Linked DNA regions of Homo sapiens: regions 1 and 3 are each linked to region 2. The links are contacts of gene promoters, found by promoter capture Hi-C in blood cells and fetal thymus (Javierre and others, 2016). All regions are on one chromosome and are shown on one strand. Each heading gives the region's core, a stretch centred on a gene start or on the middle of the fragment in contact. The rest is flanking DNA. Distances are from core to core; before and after follow the strand shown.

Region 1 (3,450 bases), core at 304-2,803, 290 kb before region 2:
AAAAAAGAAAGGTTTGAGCTAAGAACTTGCAGGAGACAAGGAAATTAGTCAAGCAGAAGGATATCTGGGGGAATGGCATGCGAGGCAGAAGGGAAAGCTAGGGTCGAGGCCCTCTGGGAAAGAAGCAAGGCCAAGGGGCTGGAGTAGAGGGAGGAAGAGGGGAAGTAGTGGAAGATGAGACTAGCTTTACTACTGATTATGATGTAAGAATAGTGGCCAATTTCCTTTCCAACTTGGGCCCGGCAGAATGGCTCCTGCAAAGAAGGGTGATGAGAAGAAGAAGGGTCATTCCGCCATCAACGAGATGGTGACCCGAGAATACCCCATCAACATTCATAAGTGCATTCATGGAGTGGGCTTCAAGAAGCGTTCCCCTCAGGCACTCAAAGAGCTCCGGAAACTTGCCCTGAAGGAGATGGGAACTCCAGATGCACACTTTGATACCAGGCTCAACAAAGCTGTCTGGGCCAAAGGAATAAGCAACGTCTCATACTGTATCCATGTTCGGTTGTCCAGAAAATGTAATGAAGATAAAGATTTACCAAACAAGCTCTATACTTCGGTTGCCTACGTACCTGTTACCACTTTAAAAAAATCTACAGTCGGTGTGAATGTGAACTAACTGCTAATCATCAAATATACCAAATAAAGTTATAAAATTGTTTTTTGTTTGTTTGTTTGTTTGTTTTTTGGGGGGGTGGGATAGAATCTTGCTCTGTCACCCAGGCTGGACCACAGTGGCGTGATTTTGGCTCACTGCAACCCCCACCTCCCGGGTTCAAGCAATTCTCCTACCTCAGCCTCCCTTGTAGCTGGGACTGCAGGCATGCACCACCATGCCCAGCTAATTTTGGTATCTTTAGTACAGATGGGGTTTCAGCACGTTGGCCAGGCTGGCCTCAAACTCCTGACCTCAAGTGATCTGTCCGCCTTGACCTCCTAAAGCGCTGGGATTAGAGGCATGAGCCACTGTGGGGGCCAAAATTGTTTAAATATATATATATATATATATATATATATATATATATATATATATATATATATATATAATAGTGGCCAGGCATGATGGCTCATGCCTGTAATCCCAGCACTTTGGGAGGTCAAGGCGCTTTGGGAGGGCAAGATGGGAGGATCCCTTGAGCCCAGGAGTTCGAGACCAGCCTGGGGAACATACAGAGATCCTGTCTCCAAAAAAATGTTTTAAATTAGCCAGGTGGAGTGGTGCATGCTTGTGATCCCAGCTACTCAGGAGGCTGAAGCAGGGGGATCACCTGAGCCTCAGGGGTCAAGGCTGCAGTGAGCCGTGATGGCTCCACTGCACTCCAGCCTGGGCAACAGAGTGAGATTTTGTCTCAAGAACAGAAGCCACTAATTGTAAATAGATTATAGTTCTTCATAGGCTTGTTCTAAACCCCTGCTACTCAAAGCGTGCTCTTCAAATCAGCAGCATCACAATCACTTGGCCATTGTTAGAAATGCAGAACCTTGGCCAGGACAACGGCTCATGCCTGTAATACCAGCACTTTGGGAGGCTGAGGTGGGAGGATCGCTTGAGCGCAGGAGTTTGAGGCTGCAGTCAGCCGTGATCACGCCACAGCACTCCAGCCTGGCTGGCAGAGTGAGACCCTGTCTCAAAAAAAAAAAAAAAGAAAGAATCTTGGGACCCATTACAGGTCTACGAAACTATAATCCTAATTAGCAAGATCCCCAGATTATGGAAAAGACACCACGTGCCTTTATAAATATATGGGCACTGCCAACATCATATGCTTTACCAAATAACAGCCTTAGTTGATTGAGACAAAACGAGTTTTCTTGCCTTAAGTTGCCCTTTCACAAGGGTTTTTGAGGACCAGGACCTACCAAGTGCGCCACCTGGTGGCAGCACAGATAAAATTTACACTCTAGGACCAAGATCACGTGTAGAATTCAAATAGCATAAAGTAATTATAGTTTTAACACAATTGGCTTGGACTTTTCAAAAATATCCATGTCAGAAAAGATCAAAATGGTCTGAAAAACTGCTCTAGATTAAAAGAGACCAAAGGGTCTGAACCGCTAAATGCAATCTGTTCAAAAAGCTATTCAAGGGCAGGCACGGTGGCTCATGTCTGTAATCCCAGCACTTTGGGAGGCCAAGGTGGGTGGATCACCTGAGGTCAGGAGTTTGAGACCAGTCTGACCAACATGGTGAAACCCTGTCTCTATTAAAAATACAAAAATTAGCCAGGCATGGTGACAGGCGCCTGTAATCCCAGCTACTCGGGAGACTAAGGCAGGAGAATTGCTTGAACCCAGGAGGCAGAGATTGCAGTGAGCCAAGATCGTGCCACTGCACTCTAGCCTGGGCAACAGAGCGAGACTCCATCTCAAAAAAAAAAAAAAAAAAAAAGCTAGTCAAGTACATAATTGGGCCAATTGGGAAAATTGAATATGGAATATATATCACAATATAGTATTAATGTTAAATTTCTTTCTTTCTTTTTTTTTGAAACAGTGTCTTGCTCTGTCATCCAGGCTGGAGTGCAGTGGCATGATGGTGGCTCACCGCAGCCTCAACCTCCTGGGCTCAAGCAATCTTTCCACCTCAGCCTCCGAGTAGCTGGGACCACAGGTGTGCGTCACCATGTCTGGCTAATTTTTTGTAAGTTTTGTACAGACAAAATTTCGCCATATTGCCCAGGCTGGTCTCAAACTCCTGGGTTCAAGTGATCCACCTGCCTCAGCCTCCCATAGTGCTGGGATTACAGGCATGAGCCACTGTGCTTAGCCTAATGTTAAATTTCTCAAGCATGGTAATATACTGTAATTATATAGAATGTCCTCATTCTTAGGGGATACATGGTGAAGTAATATTAGAAATATGATGCCTGCAACTAACTTTCAAAATATTTAGCAAACATTGAAATAATTTTTTTTTTTGAGAGGAAGTCTCACTCTGTTGCCCAGGCTGGAGTGCAGTGGTGTGTTCTCGGCTCACTGCAACGTCCGCCTCCTGGGTTCAAGCAATTCTCCTGCCTCAGCCTCCCGAGTAGCTGGGATTACAGGCGCGCACCACCATGCCTGGCTAAATTTGTATTTTTAGTAGAGACGGGGTTTCACCGTGTTGGTCAGGCTGGTCTTGAACTCCTGACCTCAAGTGATCCACCTGCCTCGGCCTCCCAAAGTGCTGGGATTATAGGCGTGAGCCATCGTGGCTGGCCAGAATAATTTTTTTGAGACAGGATCTCACTCTGTTGCCCAGGCTGGAGCACAGTGGTGAGATCTTGGCTCACTGCAATTTCAACCTCCCTGGCTCAAGTGATACTCCCACCTCAGCCTCCTGAGTAGCGGGTCCACAGGCACATACCACCATGCCTGGCTACTTTTTGTATTTTTTATAGAGACAGGGTTTCGCCCAGGCTGCCCAGGCTGGTCTCGAACTCCTGGCCTCAAGTGATCTGCCTACCT
Region 2 (3,295 bases), core at 420-2,919:
GTACATACCCCAGAGAACTGAAAGCAGAGTCTTGAGCAGGTATTTGTACAACCCTGTTTGTAGCAGCACTATTCACAATAGCCAAAGGTGGAAGCAACACAGGTGTCCATCAGTATATGAATGCATGAACAGAATGCGGCACACACGCACAATAGGATATTGCTCAGCCTTCAAAAGGAAGGCAGTTCTGGCCAAGCGTGGTGGTTCATGCCTGTAATACCAGCACTTTGGGAGGCTGAGGTGGGCGGATCATTTGAGGTCAGGAGTTCGAGACCAGCCTGGCCGACATGATGAAACCCCATCTCTACTAAAAATACAAAAATTAGCCAGTCGGCACGTGCCTGTAATCCCAGCTACTCAAGAGGCTGAGGCAAGGCCAGGCACGGTGGCTCATGCCTGTAATCCCAACACTTTGGGAGGCCAAGGCGGGCGGATTGCCTGAGCTCAAGAGTTTGAGACCAGCCTAGGCAACATGGTGAAACCCCATCTCTGCTAAAATACAAAAGAAATTAACCAGGCGTGGTGGCGTGCACCTGTAGTCCCAGCTACTCAGGAGGCTGAGGCAGGAGAATTGCTTGAACTCGGGAGGCGGAGGTTGCAGTGAGCCGAGATCACACCACTGCACTCCAGCACTCCAGCCTGGGCGACAGAGTGAGGCTCCATCTCTACAAAACAAACAAACAAACAAACAACAACAACAACAACAAAAACACTGAGGCAAGAGAATCGTTTGAACCTGGGAGGCAGAGGTTACAGTGAGCCAAGATCACACCACTGCACTCCAGCCTGGGCAACAGAGCGAAACTCCATCTCAAAAAAAAAAAAAGAAAGAAAAGAGAAAGAGAGAGCTCCAGAGATGGATGGTGGTGATGGTTGCAGAACAATGTGAATGTACTTAGTGCCCCAAACTGTACACTTAAACATAATTAAAATGGGCCTAGCACGGTGGCTCATTCCCAGCATTTGGGAGGCTGAGGTGGGAGGATTGCTTGAGCTCAAGAGTTTGAGACCAGGCTGGGCAACATAAGCAACACTCTGTCTCTACAAAAACTACAGAAATTAGCCAAGCCTGGTGGCTGCACACTTGTAGTCCCAGTCACTTGGGAAGTTGAGGAGGGAGGGTCACTTGAGCTCAGGGGTCAGAGGTTGCCACGAACTGTGATTGTGCCACTGCACTCCAGCCTAGGTGACAAAAGCAAGACTCTGTCTTAAAAACAACACAACAAAAAATTGGCTGGACGCAGTGGCTCTTGCCTGTAATCCTAGCACTTTAGGAGGCCGAGGAAGGCAGTTCACTTGAGGTCAGGAGTTCGAGACCAGCCTGGCCAACATGGTGAAACCCTGTCTCTACTAAAAATACAAAAATTAGCCAGGCGTGGTGGCAGGTGCCTGTGGTCCCGGTTACTCTGCGGGCTGAGGCACAAGAATCACGTGAACTCGGGAGGCAGAGGTTGCAGTGAGCCGAGATCACACCACTGCACTCCAGCCTGGGTGACTGAGACTCAGTCTAAAAAAAAAAAAAAAATTGAAATGGTAAATTCTGTTGTGTACGTTTTACCACAATTAAAAAAAAAAAAAGCGGAATGGGAGTGGAGCTAAATGAGGCTAGTTTAGGGTGGGAACCGGGGCACAGGAAGCACGTCACTTCTGGTGGGGAGTGGGGGGAGGGAGAAGACTGAATAAGCCGTGAACTGGGCAGCTGTGACACGCGCACCTTGTCACCTTGTCACCAATTTCCTGCCCGGGATCCCAGAGCTACCCTTCTTGGAGCCCACAGGGGTAAGGTTGAGCTTCTCACTTTCCCTCCAATGAAGCGTGGCAGCATGGGAAGGATTTTGGCAGTGTCGAGGTCTGAGTTTTAGTCCGTTCCCCTCTCTGGGTCTCAGTTTCTCGCTGGTAAGTGCAGGGGTTGGGGAATCCCCAGCGCTCCTGTGGCTCGACATTCTGCACTCTGTGAAGCTCCTGCCCTGCCCTGCTGGGTCTCTGAGCTCACGCACTTGCCCTGGCGCTCCTTTCCTGATTTGTCTCCCCTCTCTCCTTCCTCTGCTCTGCCATCTCGGTGGCCGATGTAGAAATGTGGGGCTGCCTCCTTATTTAGGGGCCCACGTGGGCTGTGATCTGGACCATCTGAGCTGATGCAGAGGGGAAGGGACAGTCCCTGTTCTCCCCGGCAGGCGTGGTGGGTTCATAATGAATCTCAGTCACTCACTTCCTACCTGCCTCGGTTCGAGGGGGTCTTTCCTAACCCATGGCTCACATTCCCATGAAGCCTCTTCTTTCTAGGCACGTAGAAAGGCCCTTTTTCCCTTTTATTATTTTTGTAAAATTTACTAGGTAACGCATAAAAAGCTTATGTAACATACATATACATCATACTGCACAGTAATATACCAAACACACCTGAAGCTGCCACTCAGCACAAGGATGGAGTATCACCAAACTGCAAACACCACTTATCTGCTTTTTTTTTTTTTTTTTTTTTTTGAGACAGAGTTTTCATTCTTGTCGCCCAGGCTGGAGTGCAGTGGCACAATCTTGGCTCACCACAACCTTCGCCTGCTGGGTTCAAGCGATTCTCTTGTCTCAGCCTCCCAAGTAGCTGGGACTACAGGTGCGCATGCCACCATGCCCAGCTAATTTTTGTGTTTTTGGTAGCGACAGGGTTTCACTATGTTGGCCAGGAGAGTCTCGATCTCTTGACCTCATGATCCGCCCACCTCGGCCTCCCAAAATGCTGGGATTACAGGCGTGAGCCACCACACCTGGCCACCACTTGTCCACTTTTATGCTACTTGCCTCCCACCCACAGGTAGCCACCCTCTGGAATTTTGTGTTTATTGTTCTCTTATTTTTAAGTGCTTTATTACATATGCATCTCTATTTATTTATTTATTTATTTATTTACTGAGATGGGGTCACACTATATTTCCCAGGCTGGAGTGCAGTGGCTATTCACAGGCATGATCATAGCACACTACAACCTCGAACTCCTGGGATCCAGTGATCTTCCCACCTCAGCCTCCTGATTAGTTGGGACTACAGTCTTGAACTGCTGCACCTGGCTATGCCTATTTATTTTTATTTTATGAAACAGTTATATAGCGTTACTGTGTGCTAGGCACTGTTCTAAATGCTTTAAAATATTTACTTATTTTATTTGTTTAATCTGCACAAAAACCCTATGAGGAAGATACTATTATTGATTCCTTTTTGCAGATGAGGAAATTGAGGCACAGAAAGATTAAGTGATTTGCTCAAGGTCACACAGATAGTGAGAAGTAAGGCCGGGAGCAGT
Region 3 (3,455 bases), core at 396-2,895, 310 kb before region 2:
CCCTCTTTTCTCGACCTGCTCCTGACCCTGTGATGTTGTTGGGGCAGTTGAACTGGGTTATTTGCGTTGCTCACTGCCATGTCATCCTTTGTTTTGTAGATGCCGTGGAAAGCAGATACTCTGTAAGTACACATTTCATATACATTATATTTAAAAGTACTCCACTGAACAGTGAAATATTTCCAGACTCACCCACGTCCTGCATTCACATGAATTCTTCCCCGCTCCCTAGTCTGTTTCAGACCAGAAGCCCTGGGCTTCTCTGACTAGCCTTGGCCAGTTCTGATTTCGAATATTCTCTCCTGCAATTTCCATCATTACATCTCAGCCCACACGTGAAGGGATTGGGACTCTGGGGTGCTTAGCGCCAAACAAGCAAAGCACACATTTCGTTTAACGCCAAAGTCTAGGCTCTGGAAGTGAGGCAGATCTAGGGTGTATGCTTGGAGGAGTGGAGCAGCTGACAGCTCATTGCAATTTAGCCGATTCTAATTACCCCCTACACACCAGGCCATCAGCTGCAGGAGACACCCAAGCTTCTTGACCTCAGTTCACCTTCTGATGAGGGAATCAGACATGTGATCACTTATCATAAAGCAAAGTGAGCTATGCCAGAGCCTATGGGAACACAGAACAGAGACCTAGCTAGTGGCCTCTTCCCCAAGGAATCATTTGGAATGGGCCATGAAGAATGAATGGAGTGATGGCAGCATTGAGGGAGAAAGATCAGCAGGAGCACAAGGGTGAGGGATGACCAGTTTCAAGCAGTGTGGGATGGGAAAAGAAGAGTGTGACAGTGACAAGTGACGGGAGAAAGATAAGTCAGGGCTTAAATCCAAAGGATTTACATGCCTTGTTAAGAAGCTTCATTCTGTAGGAAATGGAGTTAGGAATCTGCTATTTGGCAGATGGGAGGGTTTATGAAAGACACAGAGGCCCACGTTCAACTTTTGCAAAGACGTGTCTTCCAATCCCAACCTTTTTGTGAGCTACCCAGCAATGCAGGAGTTAACTGGGCAGCTAATATCTGAAGAAATGAGGCATTTGCCGCATAAACTTCTTTTAGGTCTGGGAAGAACTTTCAGCAAGATTTCTGGTAGCTCTTCCAGTGGGCCCCTGGCTTCCTTTGTTTTGCCCATGTCTGGACTCTTGTAAAACAGAGCTCATTATGCCTTTGACAGACAGGAAGCCACTGACATTCTTTTTATGGAAGAAAGCTATGAATTTAAGGAAAAGAGGAATGAAATGAATGGTTGTTTTTTTTCCTAGCCAAAACCCACTCAGACTCCTGAAATCAGAGACTATCGTGTCACTGGGACAAGGAGCCCAATTTACAGATGAGGAAACTGAGGCCTGCACTGGTAGAATAGCGTGTCTGGGGTCACCTGGATGGCTAATAGAGTGAGGAACAGAGCCCAGGCCTCTATACTCTGCGGCCAGTCCTCTGTCACGACAGAGACTCCCTCCAAGATGTGAAGTTGCTGTCCCAGCAATAATGGCTTTGAGAGAGTGGAAAATGAGGTCTTTGCTCCCTGGGCAGTGCGGGACACAGATGTGTTCTCCTGAAGCGATAAACATGGCTGGGTCCACCCAAAACACCCTGTAGGACCAACTTATTTACTTTGTCTTGGATCCAAAGGGTGTCTCTGGACAAAGGCTTGGAGCTCCAGGCCAGACAGAACTTTACCCAGAAGCTGGCCCTTGGGCCTCAAAGTCTGCTCCCAGGATGGTTCTGAGAGCTCACCCATGACTGGTCCTGTCCCCCCAGAAAAAAGAATAGAGTCATTTGATGGGAGCACAGGGTTTCCAGCCGTTGGGAAAGGAATTTTGAACCTTTAAGCAAATGGGTTTTGTTTATAAAAGAAGCAGGTATAGCTTCCCTAATAATCAGCTGGTGTGGGTCAGGAGAAAATTAATTGAATTGCCCAGTGGGGAAATGGGAGGAGATTTCCTTCCTGAAATCAAACCTGGCGATCATTCCCAGTTGTTTAATGGCCGTTGCCTCTGAAAACATTGGAGGAAATATCTTAACAATGAGATAGCCACGTAGCCAAAGACTAATTTGGTATTGTTTGACTTGCTTCAATGGCACATTCTGACTTCATTTTTCCTCTGCCATTTTTACCTTGTTTATAAATTGTGTGTGTGGCCGACGCAGACAGATAGCATGGAAGAGAACACCCTGTACTTAAATGAAAGGGGTGAATCTGGACTTGTGAGAGTCTTGGGATCTTGGAAAGGACCCTGCCTTCTTACAGAAAGAAAGGCAATTGGCAGCTATAGCTCGCCTCCCCCCTTCCTGGAGGCCAGGAGGCAGCTGGGCTACAGTGGAAACTGTCCAGGTGCTAGGATCAGGGGATGGGAGGGGAGCTCCAGCTTTCCAGCTGTCTTTTGGGTGAGCCTGTCTTCCTCAAGCTCAAGCTTCCTTATCTATAAAGTGGAGATGGTGATGACAATGATGATAAGAGCAACCTATTAGGATTTTAAGGATGAAATGAGCAACTGCAACCACCATATAAAAGCTGCAAGCTGCAAACCACCATATAAAAGCTGGTTGATCTCAAGCTCTTTTCATCACTTGGGCAATAGTAGGTGTGGATGGGGGACTTAACTTGATTTGGCCATGAAATGACCCTGCCACATATGGAGAATGTAGCAGTTGCTTACCCAAGGCATAGGATTCAACCAAGGCCAGGCTTTGACTTAGGAATCAGAGACCCACATTAACACTTGACTTCCCACTTCTTAGCCATGTCACCATGGGCAAATTTCTTGGCCTCTCAAGACCTCTACTTCCTAATCTGTAAACTGGGAATCATAAACTCCCTCACTTGGTTGTTGCAAGGGTTGAATGAGCACCTGGCATAGACCTGGTCTATTGCAAGTGCCCACAGGAGCACTTTGTAGAAGCAGGAACTAGAGATCCCAGGGTGTGTTGAAATCAAAATGACCTTTGAGGGAGACCACACCATATTCCGGGTACAAGGCAGGGCGATTTCACAACTGCACTTGGGTGGCTGATGGCTGGCTTCTGATTTAAGCACAGCAAGCCCAGACCTTGGATGTGAGCGTGTTAACCTTTACTTCAAAATCCCTAAGGCCCTGTTGATTGTGGCCCAGCCCTTCCTGTCTGTGGCTTTGGTTCTGCAATGGTGCCCCAGGCATTGGCTGCCCCCACAGAGAGAGAGCGGAGGTGTCTGGGGAGGGACTTGGTCTGGGGCCCACAGAAAGGCTGGACACCAGAGTCATGTCTCCCCCATCCAGGCAGAGCAGAGGAAATAGGGCAGGGTGGCTGCCGGCGCTGGCAGGCCTCCAGCCTCTGGGGCCAGCACGGCTTGCTTGGCCCACTTGCATGGGGCTCTCCTGGCAGAGGAGGGGCCAGAGCCTTGGCTTTCTAGTTGGGGCACCTCGGCCCTGCATCCTGTTCCCCAAGGGTCCTTGGACCCAGCAGGGCT

The links. The method cuts DNA at HindIII sites, captures the fragments that hold promoters and counts their contacts. A CHiCAGO score of 5 or more calls a contact.
Region 1: a contact is called between a fragment that was not itself captured here and the fragment with the promoter of ICAM2 in region 2, in 3 of 17 cell types (endothelial precursors, M0 macrophages and M2 macrophages). The highest score is 7.8, in endothelial precursors.
Region 3: a contact is called between a fragment that was not itself captured here and the fragment with the promoter of ICAM2 in region 2, in 2 of 17 cell types (monocytes and M0 macrophages). The highest score is 6.5, in monocytes.

What each region holds. Positions count from the first base shown.
Region 1 is chr17:64,305,488-64,308,937 of GRCh38, reverse strand. It overlaps the pseudogene RPL31P57. Among named protein-coding and RNA genes, the nearest start is that of TEX2, 44 kb to the right of the region's middle. The HindIII fragment of the contact is 4,234 bases long and covers 1-3,450 here.
Region 2 is chr17:64,019,007-64,022,301 of GRCh38, reverse strand. ICAM2 (intercellular adhesion molecule 2) reads left to right here and starts at 1,669. Exons shown (of 5, transcript NM_001099789.2): 1 at 1,669-1,779. RefSeq lists enhancers at 1,230-1,279, 1,500-1,589, 1,335-1,835, 1,930-2,049. The HindIII fragment of the contact is 3,360 bases long and covers 1-2,351 here.
Region 3 is chr17:64,326,367-64,329,821 of GRCh38, reverse strand. It overlaps PECAM1 (platelet and endothelial cell adhesion molecule 1), which reads left to right. Exons shown (of 16, transcript NM_000442.5): 15 at 100-122. Among named protein-coding and RNA genes, the nearest start is that of PECAM1, 63 kb to the left of the region's middle. RefSeq lists an enhancer at 3,335-3,414. The HindIII fragment of the contact is 1,557 bases long and covers 867-2,423 here.